Regions from separate parts of the Homo sapiens genome. Here regions 2 and 3 are each linked to region 1. The links are contacts of gene promoters, found by promoter capture Hi-C in blood cells and fetal thymus (Javierre and others, 2016). All regions are on one chromosome and are shown on one strand. Each heading gives the region's core, a stretch centred on a gene start or on the middle of the fragment in contact. The rest is flanking DNA. Distances are from core to core; before and after follow the strand shown.

Region 1 (3,381 bases), core at 473-2,972:
TTTTCGATAGTAAGAGACCTGAAAGGCAGCCGGGCCGCTTTCTTTCAAAACTACAAGAAAAGTTACAGGGAAACCCGCTCTTTGCTTGTGCACACTTGAGGGGCGTTTACTCCCCGCTTCTCCTGCGGGGAGCGGGGAGATATCGCGGGTGCTTGGAAATTGCTTTATCCCGCGGGCAGCGACCCAGGAGGGGGCTGCCTCCCAGGGCCCCGCGCCCGCCGCACAATTCACCAGCCGTCCGAAGTTTAAGCACCGACCTTGCAGTCAGACCAAGGAAAATGGATGATTTGGACCGGCAGACAGGCCAATGCCCCCGCGGAGAATTAAGTGTGCAGCCGCCTGCCCCGACATCTAACGCCCACTGGGACGGGAGACTAAGAGGACACCATTTGTTTTAAGCCAAGGGACACTGTTTTCTTTAATCCTCCATTATGTAACGCAGGAAGAAAAGTGCTTTTCTTTCTGTGCAAATGAAATGAAAACTTGGGCAACTTACAAAAGTAAAATCAAACACCGTTTCAGACACCAGCACATTACTGCAACTTAATTTTTGTTTAATCTCAAATTCGCACTCACGCCGTGGAGAGACCTCTCCATCCCTTTGGACCTCTATTGTTAAGATTATTTTGATTGACTCTACCAGGCTTAGAAGGGGTCTGTCTGGCAAACTCGGATACAACTATCTCGGAGCTGCTAAAGAGGGAGAAAACCAAGTTTTCCAGACTCGGTTCGAAAACTAAAGAGGCCGCGCGAGTGGAACCCGCGGCCAGGAAGGGAAGTCCTGCTACGCTACGCCGGGCCGACCTGCAGGAACCCCGTGGGCCTGCCCGGGCGCCCTGGCCGAGCCAGGCGAGTTTGCCCCCGACCTCCAGCGCGGGCACCGCTCCACGGGCCTGCTTCTGCGGCCTCTCTGAATTCACTCGCTACCCGCTCCCTGGCCCGGGCCTTCCGCTTTCCCAGGCCGAGATGGCCCAGCCGTCACCCGCCCGGCCTCCCAGCCCTCTTGCGTCCCCGGGGGCCGCGGCCTCGGCCACCGGGAACCTGCCCCCGGACCTTTCTAGTTCCTCTTCCGGACCAGGTCCACCCGTAGTCTCTCCCTCCCGGGCGACCCGCCACCCTTGCCCTGGCGCGGGTGAGACAGAGGAGAAGCGGGGGAGGCCGGGCGCACTCACCATCTGCGAGAAGAGGCTGAGATCCGCGGCGTAGGGCAGGAAGGCGCTGTAGTTGGGCGCGCCCGCGTACGGCCCCGCCGCCGCGTACATGCCCAGCACCGAGGTGACTGCAGCCGCGCCTGCCCCGCCGCCCAGCTCCGCGGCCCCCGGTCGGCCCGACGAGGCGGCGGCAGCCGCCGCAGCGGCCGCGGCCAGCACCCCCGGGCGCTCGCCGCCGTAGGCGCCCGGCCCCGCGGCGCTCAGGTACTGCGGGTAGCCCAGCTGCGGGAAGGACATGTCCGCGGACTCGGCGACCGCCGCAGCGGGCGAGTATTAAAGGCGCGGGGAGGGAGGCGGAGGCCGGCCGGAGGGGGTTGCAGGGGGCGCCGCGAGGGGTCTAGGGAGGAGCGGGCGGCCGGCCGGGCGCGCTCGGGCGGGCCGGGAGATGGAGGCCGGTCGCGGCTCCTCTGCCCGGTGCTCGCAGGCGCCCGGCTCCCGGCTGCGCCCGGATCCGCAATCGCGCGCCGACTGCGGCGGCCGCCCTCCGCTCGGCGGCGGGGCTTTCAGACACAATTTGAAGTTGATGCTTTGATTGGCATCCCCTTGAGCGCAGGCCCCGCCCCTGGCTCCCCTCCCGCCCCCTCCCTGCCTCCCGCCCGCCCTCGCCGGCCGCTCCCGCCCCTCCCGCGAGCACGTGGTGCCCCGTGCCGGCCCGGCCAGCTACTCTCGCGGTGGGCGCGCGCGTCGGGGCGGCGGGGTGTGGGCCCGGAGGCCGTGGGCTCCTTCCCGACCAGCCCCCGCAGCTGTCTGACAACCTGTCGACACGGGTTTACAGCTGTCTGACACCGGGTTTGCAGTTTCGCGGCCGAGGTGTGTCCCCTTTTTAACAAAAACAACTTGGCGCCTGCTTTTCTACTGTTTGGGCAGCGGGGAAGGGGCCGGCGGCCTGGACGCTGGTGACAGCGAGGGGGGAGCGGCCTCTCCCCCGAGTCCCGCGCGGCCGGGGCCTCCAGGGGACATCTTTGGCAGAAGTGCACCCGGACGCTCTCCGCGAGCCACTGAACCGGCGTGGCGTGACACCCCCGACTCCAGATGCGGGTTCCCGTGGGCCCCTACTGGGTAGTAACCGATCGTCTGCCAATGACCGGCCTCGCCGCCCTTGGGGAAGCGGGGAGCGGCCGAGCTCTGCGGGCTCTTTCAATTGTGCAAACTTTGAGCGAGGGCAAATCCCGCGGAGAAGTCGCCAGCTCGGGGGAAGCAGGCGCAGTCGGCGCCGCGGGTTCTCGGAGGGAGGGGTGGGGGAGACGCGGGGGGAGGGGCTTTCTCTTCACCCAGAAAGCCCCCTGGCAGCCGGAGGGAAACATCCCCCGCGCCCCCGCGAAGGGGGAAGACGGTGTGGCCTGGACGCCCGGTTTGTCCACCAGGTGTGCAGAGGCAGACAGGAAACTTGTGTGGAACGCGCGAACCCGAGTCGGCGCCGCCGCCAGACCGGCAACGGAGCGGCCTCTTGGGTCCAAGTCCCGCGTCCCTCTTCTCCCTGCGTCTCCCCTCTCCATCCTCAGCCTCGTCGGGCTACAGGACGCGGCCAGGCGCGGCGCACTTGAGATGGGCTCCGTTTCGCCGCGGCCCTGGCCGTGCGGCTCCCGGGAGAAGATGCCAAGTGCACGGGCCTCCTCGCCTCCCTGAGCCTGGGAAGGCGCTGGCAGGCCACTTCTGCGCCTCGTGGCTGGAGAGCTCCGGACGGTGCCGTGGGGAACCGGGTACCAGTCCCGGCTCCCGGGGCCACTTTGCGAACCACCTCCTACGCAGAGACGGGGCCGGGAGTTCACCCCGCTGCGGCTCTCCAGCACACCGGACTCCGCGGGAATTTCAGCAGCGCACTCTGGCGTCTTCTCGGCTTTAGGCCGGGTTGGGGCTACGGGATGAAGGCGGCCATCGGGCCAGAGTCGGCATGCTGTTCTGCTGGTGGTTTGAGCCACCCGTATCCTGGACACCGGCCAGGCGGTCCCTTCACCCCCTGCCTCGCTTCCCTCTCTTCACGGAGCCTCGAGGCCCAGGGACTTCAGCAGCATCAGGAGGGGCTCCGGTTTTCCGGGCCTGAGGACAGACACTGAGACATCGCCTATAATTAGCAACAATAATGCCCGTGATGGTAGTAATTACTAATAACCAGCTCCGACATCGGGCTTGATTTTTCCCTGCTCTGAGTCAGATTGTCTTGCTAGTCATG
Region 2 (3,381 bases), core at 499-2,998, 610 kb before region 1:
AATGTGCAGTTCTTGTTTTCACTTGTTGTACATCGGAAGCCGAGGTTCACATGGCTTAGCTCAGAAAACCAAATAACAGAGAAAGTGGAGCAGAAAGCAGATATTGTGAAACCTCCAAAGGAATTCTGAATATGTATAATCTCCCAAACTCTTTTGCAAAACTGCCAGAAAATGATGTAATTTTATGCTCTTCCATGGAAACATGAAGCATTATGGGTTGCAAACCCATAGGTTTATATTTAGAATGGCGGCCAAATATGATATCTTTAATCATGCTGTAATTGTTTTCTTCCATTTTTATTAAAATGCTGTTTCGAATGTAGGAACGCTGTGAACAGCTGGCTGGATAAAGATTTATAAGAGAAGCAACCACTACATGCTATGTAGGGCACTGCTTTTTTTTTTCTTTTTTTTTTTTTTTTTTTGAGGTGGGAGTGAATTTAGTTGTTCTCAATATAGAATAATAAAATCACAACTGTGCCTACGGTGATGAGAGGAAGACAGGGCTTTTATTCTGCAGCTTTAGCCTTGAAATATTTCTTAAAAATAGGTTTTCTATCTCACTACCTATTTGGAAAGAGATTGAAGCTGAAAACCTTATGAAACCCACTGTGGTCTCAGAGCAGTTGAACTAGCACTTGGTGAAAATCAGCCTGGAACAGATCCAATCACCTGCTGTGTAATAAAAGGGTATAGGATCATGAGGGCACTTCTGGCCTTGGCTGAAGATGCTTTCCACTCACACATCATTCTCCCCTGAACTTGTGTCCCATGCAGCCATGAGGACAGAAACAAAAGCATTGCTGGTAACGACTGAAAGGAGTGCAGGCCACCTGCATGATGCAGGGGAACGTGGAGTCAACAGCAGGAATTAAAACAAGGAGGGGGGTGGTGTTGGAACTTGTAAGTGAAGCCTTGTGTTTAGTGTCTGTGCCAATAACGCCGTGTTTTCTTACTTGGAACACAGCAAAACAAATGGGCAAAAGAACAAGAGACCAGATCTCCCTCAGTCTGAAGAAACATCGTGAGAAACATGGAAATTGTAAAATGGTGGACAGGTGTCTGTACTAAGAACAAAGGTAAACTTGTTCAGCGTATCCTGGACTGTGATTTTCCTTCGCAAGCTTGCCAACCCTCCCACATCTGCACGTGTCCAGCATGGTGTACTGGGATTAGCACAGCTAGACAAGTGCTCAGAGGGCTGTGAATGGGGTGCACATGGTAGGGAATATTGTTGGTCGGCAGTGCATGGGGAAAGCAGCAGTGATGGCAAACGGCTTGATTTATTCATCCAGGACAGTCATGCCTGTTTTATAGGCCTATTAAAGAAAGACAAAAACAAGAAGCTTAGATGTTGACTCAACTTATTTGGATGTAGGGAAAATGGAATACTTTAGGAATAATTCATGGTTATAAAATCCAAAATCAAATATCTGTTACTAATCTGCATGCTAAGAGATATCTTAGTAGCTAATGGCAATTTAGATATCTCATATATTCACTTTTTATTTTAATAACTTTATAGTTTTATAAGGAGGTCAGATATGGCCTGAACAAGCAATGGAATGTATGAATATAATAAATGATTGAGGGAAAATAAATACATGGGACCTAATAAGAATTTTTTATATTTTCAAAAAAATGTTCTGTGGATGACAATCTCCATCACTTGGAAGATAAAATTTAAACTTAAAATGCACATTTTTCAAGGTTCAACTTGATTGAGGATATTTGAAAGAAAACTTACTGAACATGCTCACTGATGGAATAAGAAAGAAAGAGTTCTATTTAAACAGCTAGCAAAATAAAACTTCTTATAGTCCCCTCCTCTGCAAGGTCTCTTCCCAAACATTTCAAATATAACTTATTATTTCCAGTGGATAAAAACAACCTAAAAATCAAATATTACTTAAAAAAGAAAAACATAACATCACAATGTTGAAGAATTTACAATGGGAGCAAGGCGTCAATGATGTAATGTACCTGAAAGTCACTGTCAAGGCTGAACATCAGAGGAAGACCATCCCACCTCCCACGTCCTTTACCTCTCATCCAGGCTGGCTGTGCTCTGGGAGTCATTTCTTCAATGCCTCTTTGATTGTCCCCTTTTCACTTTACCCATGTGGCCGCTGCTTCAGGTTGAAGCTTCAGTTCTGTTGCCTCTCCCTTAAAGTGACCACCCATCCACATTTTCACAGGACTGAGTGCTGTTTACAGGAAGACATTGAAGACGACTGTCATTAGGAGATTCCCAAGCAGACAGGGACAGCTGGGCACCCTGTGAGTCTGCCTCTGGTCTATCTTCCTTCCATCTGCCCTCTTCATTTTGGCCTTTATAGGGTGCCCTGTGCAAATCTGATTTCACCACCTTCTGCTGGATGGAGAAGCTCCAGGTGGACATCTGACATGAGATCAGGTGGGGCTGGAATGTGGCTGGGGCCCCGCGCTTGCTTCTGGGCAAGTTTTCCAATGTCCTGAGCCTCCAGAACAACTTTGTGTAGTGCAATCTTTGTGTTCTGTATGTCTATTCCAAAGATCCCAGTGGCCTCTCACCACCCCCACCCAGACTGGAAACTCCCTCAGGGCACAGTGCAGGGGGTTTTTAGGTGTCTCATGCCTTAGCTCCCTTCTGGACATAAAAGACACTCCACACTTGCTCAGGACTTTGATGTCCATACGATTCAGTTTGCACTGCCACGCAGGGATGCTCCAAAGTCCCCATAGGACTTGCGATGCCGTTGAGGGACAGGCTGGACCAACCGAGAGCTCCCAAAGGCCCTGCCCTGGAGCTATGAAATGCAAAGGTTTCCACCAAGAAAGACTTGCCAGGAAGCGAAGGGGCTTCTGCAACTTCCACTTGCACAACTCCTTTCCAGGCACTGGAAAGGTGACTCAGAAATGTCTACTTTAGCATAGACTTTTATGAAGTTAGGAAATGCAATTATTGTTGTCCTGTTTATCTTTACATATACCAGCCCACAATGTGTAAGCTTCAGGGCACTCAAAGCCTGGCCTCCTCACCAATTAGGGTGGGGTTTGTTCTCACAGGAAATCCAGGAATTTTTTTGTTTTTTTTTTTGATATGGGGTCTTGCTCTGTCGCCCAGGCCGGAGTGCAGTGGCGCGATCTCGGCTCACTGCAAGCTCCGCCTCCCGGGTTCACTCCATTCTCCTGCCTCAGCCTCCCGAGAAGCTGGGACTACAGGCGCCCGCCATCACGCCCGGCTTATTTTTTTGTATTTTTTAGTAGAGATGGGATTTCACCGTGTTAGCCGGGATGGTCTCAATCTCCTGACCTCGTGATCTGCCCGCCTCGGCCTCCCAAGGTGCTGGGATTACAGGCGTGAGCCACCGCGCCCGGCCTAGGAATTTCTTATGATCA
Region 3 (3,381 bases), core at 460-2,959, 570 kb before region 1:
AAGTCAGAGAAAAGTTGATGTGGCAGTCTTGAGTCAATTTCATAGCGTGCAGCCTGGGAAGTCACGTGGGAATTCTATATTGCAGTCTGCAGGAGAATCCTTTCTGCTTCACAACCTCAATCTTTGCTCTTAAGGCTGTCGACTGATTAGACAAGGCCCACTCATGTGATGAGGGGTAATCTGCTTTACTCAAAGTGTACTTATTTAAATGTTACACACTTCTAAAAAGTATCCTCATAGCAACATCTAGACTCGTATTTGACCAAATGATTTAGGCACCATAACCTTGTTAATTAGGCACATAAAATGAACTGTCAAAGAATGTGTTGGGCTTTAGATTTACCCACCTTGTTGTGCCACTGTGTTCATTGGTTTGTCTGCTGTCGCATATTTCATTAGGTGAATATACCCCAGTTTACTTGTCCACTCTCAAGTTGATGGGCATTCAAGGCGGGCTGTAGGTTTCTGCCACTGAAAAAGTGTTGGCACGAACATTACTGCACACTCCTCCCTTAGGAAGTGTTCCTTGGATATACTCCTAAGGAAGGGGGCATGTGACCATTCAACCTGAAGAAACTACGCCAAACTCCTTTCCAAAAAGTAGCCCTCATTGCCACAAATATTGGCATCTTACATTCAAGAGCTTCTCTTCATCTACATCTTCTTGGAGGCTTCCAAAAGACTTCTTGGAGGCTTTTTAATTTTTATCAATAATATGTTTAAGATGGTGTTTCATCAAAGTCTTGGTTTATACTTTTCTGTCACTAATAATGTTAAACTTTCTTTGAAGTGCTTAGTGTCCATTTACTTTCTGCTTCTGTGAAATGTCTGTTTATATATTTTGTGCCTTTTAGATTGGATTGTTTGTGTTTTTCTTCTGAATTTGTAGGCTTTCGTTATATATTCTTAATTCCAAAATCTACTGGTTGCATATATTGTGAATAACTTCTTAAAGTTTGTAATTTTTTACACTGTACTTAAGGCATCTTTTGATAGACAAAAGTTTTAAAATTTAAATATGGTCAAGCTTACTAACGTTTTCTTTCATAGTTAATATTTTTGTGTATTATTCAAGAAATATTTTGTGGCACCAAGTTCGAAAATATATTAACATTTATTTTCTACTGAGTTTTAGTTTCTATTTTTGTTACTTAACTTATTAACCTGTTTGGAGATAATTTTTGTATATGGTATGATGTAGGTATTAAAATATACATTATATATGCATGCTTTATAGAAAATTATTTTTTCAGCTTTATTTATTGAATATTTGTCTCTTTTTTCCACTCATCTGTCAAGCCATCTGTGTCATACATCAAAGTTCTATGCTTGTACGGTTCTGTTTCGGAAATCTTTATTTTATTGTATCGAGAAATTTGTGCTTGTTGTGTTTGTTGAGAATGTCTCACTATGCCATACAAACAAGAGAAATAAATACATACACCAATAGGAATAACTAGCAAATATAGATGGGTTGTAAGTAGTTACCTGTGTGATAGAGTTTTACTTAGATAGACTATAAACGTGTGTTGGAAATAAGTTTGAAAAAGGATGGGGATATTAAAAGTAATGCTAATAAAAATAAAGGATTAAAACAACCCAGTTAAAATTAGTAACTATAAAACATGGGTCTGTCACCTACAGAATTACAGCTATATTGCACATTCTTTGGTGACACCTGTTTGGACTCTGTGCATCTTCTGCCCAGATACAAATATTGCTACTCAGCAGGAAAAAGTGAGTTGCAGCTGTGTCCAATACACTTGCTTCTGCATTTTCTCATGAAGCAAGTGTCTACGATTCGAGGCTGCTTGCCTATGCTGAGAATCCTTTCTCATCTTCAGCCTGGTTCTTATAACCACACTGTTACACTGGCACTGGGAAAGACTAATGTCAGGAACCGAAGGAGATCTTGTGTAACAGTGCATCTAGATTTTCACATGTGGTCCTCCCATTCTGCCTTCTGCTTGCAAACCACTCTAGGTGCTTAAATTTCCAATATATACCCTCTTATGTATTGCTCAATATTTGTGAGTTCTTCAAAAACTGTGTGATTCTTATTTGTTTTGTGAGTCTCTATGGCTCCATGGAAAATCGAATGCTTGCCTGGTAGTGTACTAGGATGTGGCAACTGCATCAGAGTAATTTCTTACCTTGATATAATGTCTACCTCTGCACTAGCACCACACACTTTTAAGCATTGTAGTTTTGTAATGATAACGGCTTAATGTTTAGTAAGCTAACCTCACTCCAGAGTCTTCTTCAGATATTCATGGTCATGTACTCTTTCAAGTACATTTTAAAAATCATCTAGATTAATTCTCATTATTGATAAATGTAGTACAACTCTATGTATTTCTGTATTGTTGAACATCTCTTAACAAAGCTTTGTGTTTTCTTCTGTATACTTATTTGGGCATTTTAAGACTTTGATACTATTTAATGATGTGTTTCTTTTAGTTAAAATTTCTAATCATTTGCCACTGGGACACAAAAATTAGATGACTTTTGTATATTAAGCTTACATCTAGCAATCTTAGTAATGTCTACTGTTCTTTCCCATAATTTTTCTGGATATTAAAAAAAATTTCAAAATATAAACAGTTATTATTTTAAAATAATAAAAGTTTGCTACATTCTAGTGAGTATTTCATTCTTATATTTTCTTTTGTTTTTGTCATATTTTACTGGTGAGGACCTTTCATACAAATTTGAGTGTAAGTAGTGATATTGAGTATAAATTATTCTAATTTTAAAGTAAATGCTGTTAATGTTCCCCAATTTTTGTTAACTTTCTCTGTATTTTAATAGATATATTATTTCAGATAACATAAGTTTGCTTTATTTCCTAAATTATTGAGTGTTGTTGTTGTTATCTTAACATAAATGTGTATTGCTTATGCTATTTCTGTAACTATTGAGATGTTCATATAATTTCCTCTTTCATTCCGTCAGTTATAACTTATTTTACAAATTGCAATTATTTATTATTATATTAAGCAATCCTTGCATCTTAGAATAAATCTTTCTTTTTTCCTTCCTTCCTTCCTTCCCTGCCTTCCTTCCTTCCTTCTTTCCATCCTTCCTTCCTTCTTTTCTTTCTTTTCTTTTTCTTTCTTCTTTAAAAAATCTGGGCAGGTAAAGAAATGCTTGTCAACCACAATATTTAATTATTTTTATTACATGCATATAGTATATTTTTCACTTTAAATTAACTCACATTTTCTTATTATTCTATTCTTTTCATAATGGAGCCCCCAAGAGATAGAACTTACACCAGATTATGCTTTATGATGCCCTAGGTAAATTCAAACTCTGTTAATCTCTATTTTACCCATAGAGTTATGATTGTTTCTGCACTTGGATTTTGCGATGATTGTG

What was found. The method cuts DNA at HindIII sites, captures the fragments that hold promoters and counts their contacts. A CHiCAGO score of 5 or more calls a contact.
Region 2: a fragment that was not itself captured here is called in contact with the fragment with the promoter of IRX1 in region 1 in 1 of 17 cell types (fetal thymus); the score reaches 5.9 in fetal thymus.
Region 3: a fragment that was not itself captured here is called in contact with the fragment with the promoter of IRX1 in region 1 in 1 of 17 cell types (fetal thymus); the score reaches 6.6 in fetal thymus.

The regions. Positions count from the first base shown.
Region 1 is chr5:3,594,173-3,597,553 of GRCh38, reverse strand. It overlaps IRX1 (iroquois homeobox 1), which reads right to left and starts at 1,722. Exons shown (of 4, transcript NM_024337.4): 1 at 1,173-1,722. The coding sequence starts at 1,448. RefSeq lists a silencer at 1,725-2,019. The HindIII fragment of the contact is 18,185 bases long and covers 1-3,381 here.
Region 2 is chr5:4,202,240-4,205,620 of GRCh38, reverse strand. No RefSeq gene overlaps it. Among named protein-coding and RNA genes, the nearest start is that of LINC02063, 68 kb to the right of the region's middle. The HindIII fragment of the contact is 799 bases long and covers 1,349-2,147 here.
Region 3 is chr5:4,166,052-4,169,432 of GRCh38, reverse strand. No RefSeq gene overlaps it. Among named protein-coding and RNA genes, the nearest start is that of LINC02063, 32 kb to the right of the region's middle. The HindIII fragment of the contact is 1,359 bases long and covers 1,030-2,388 here.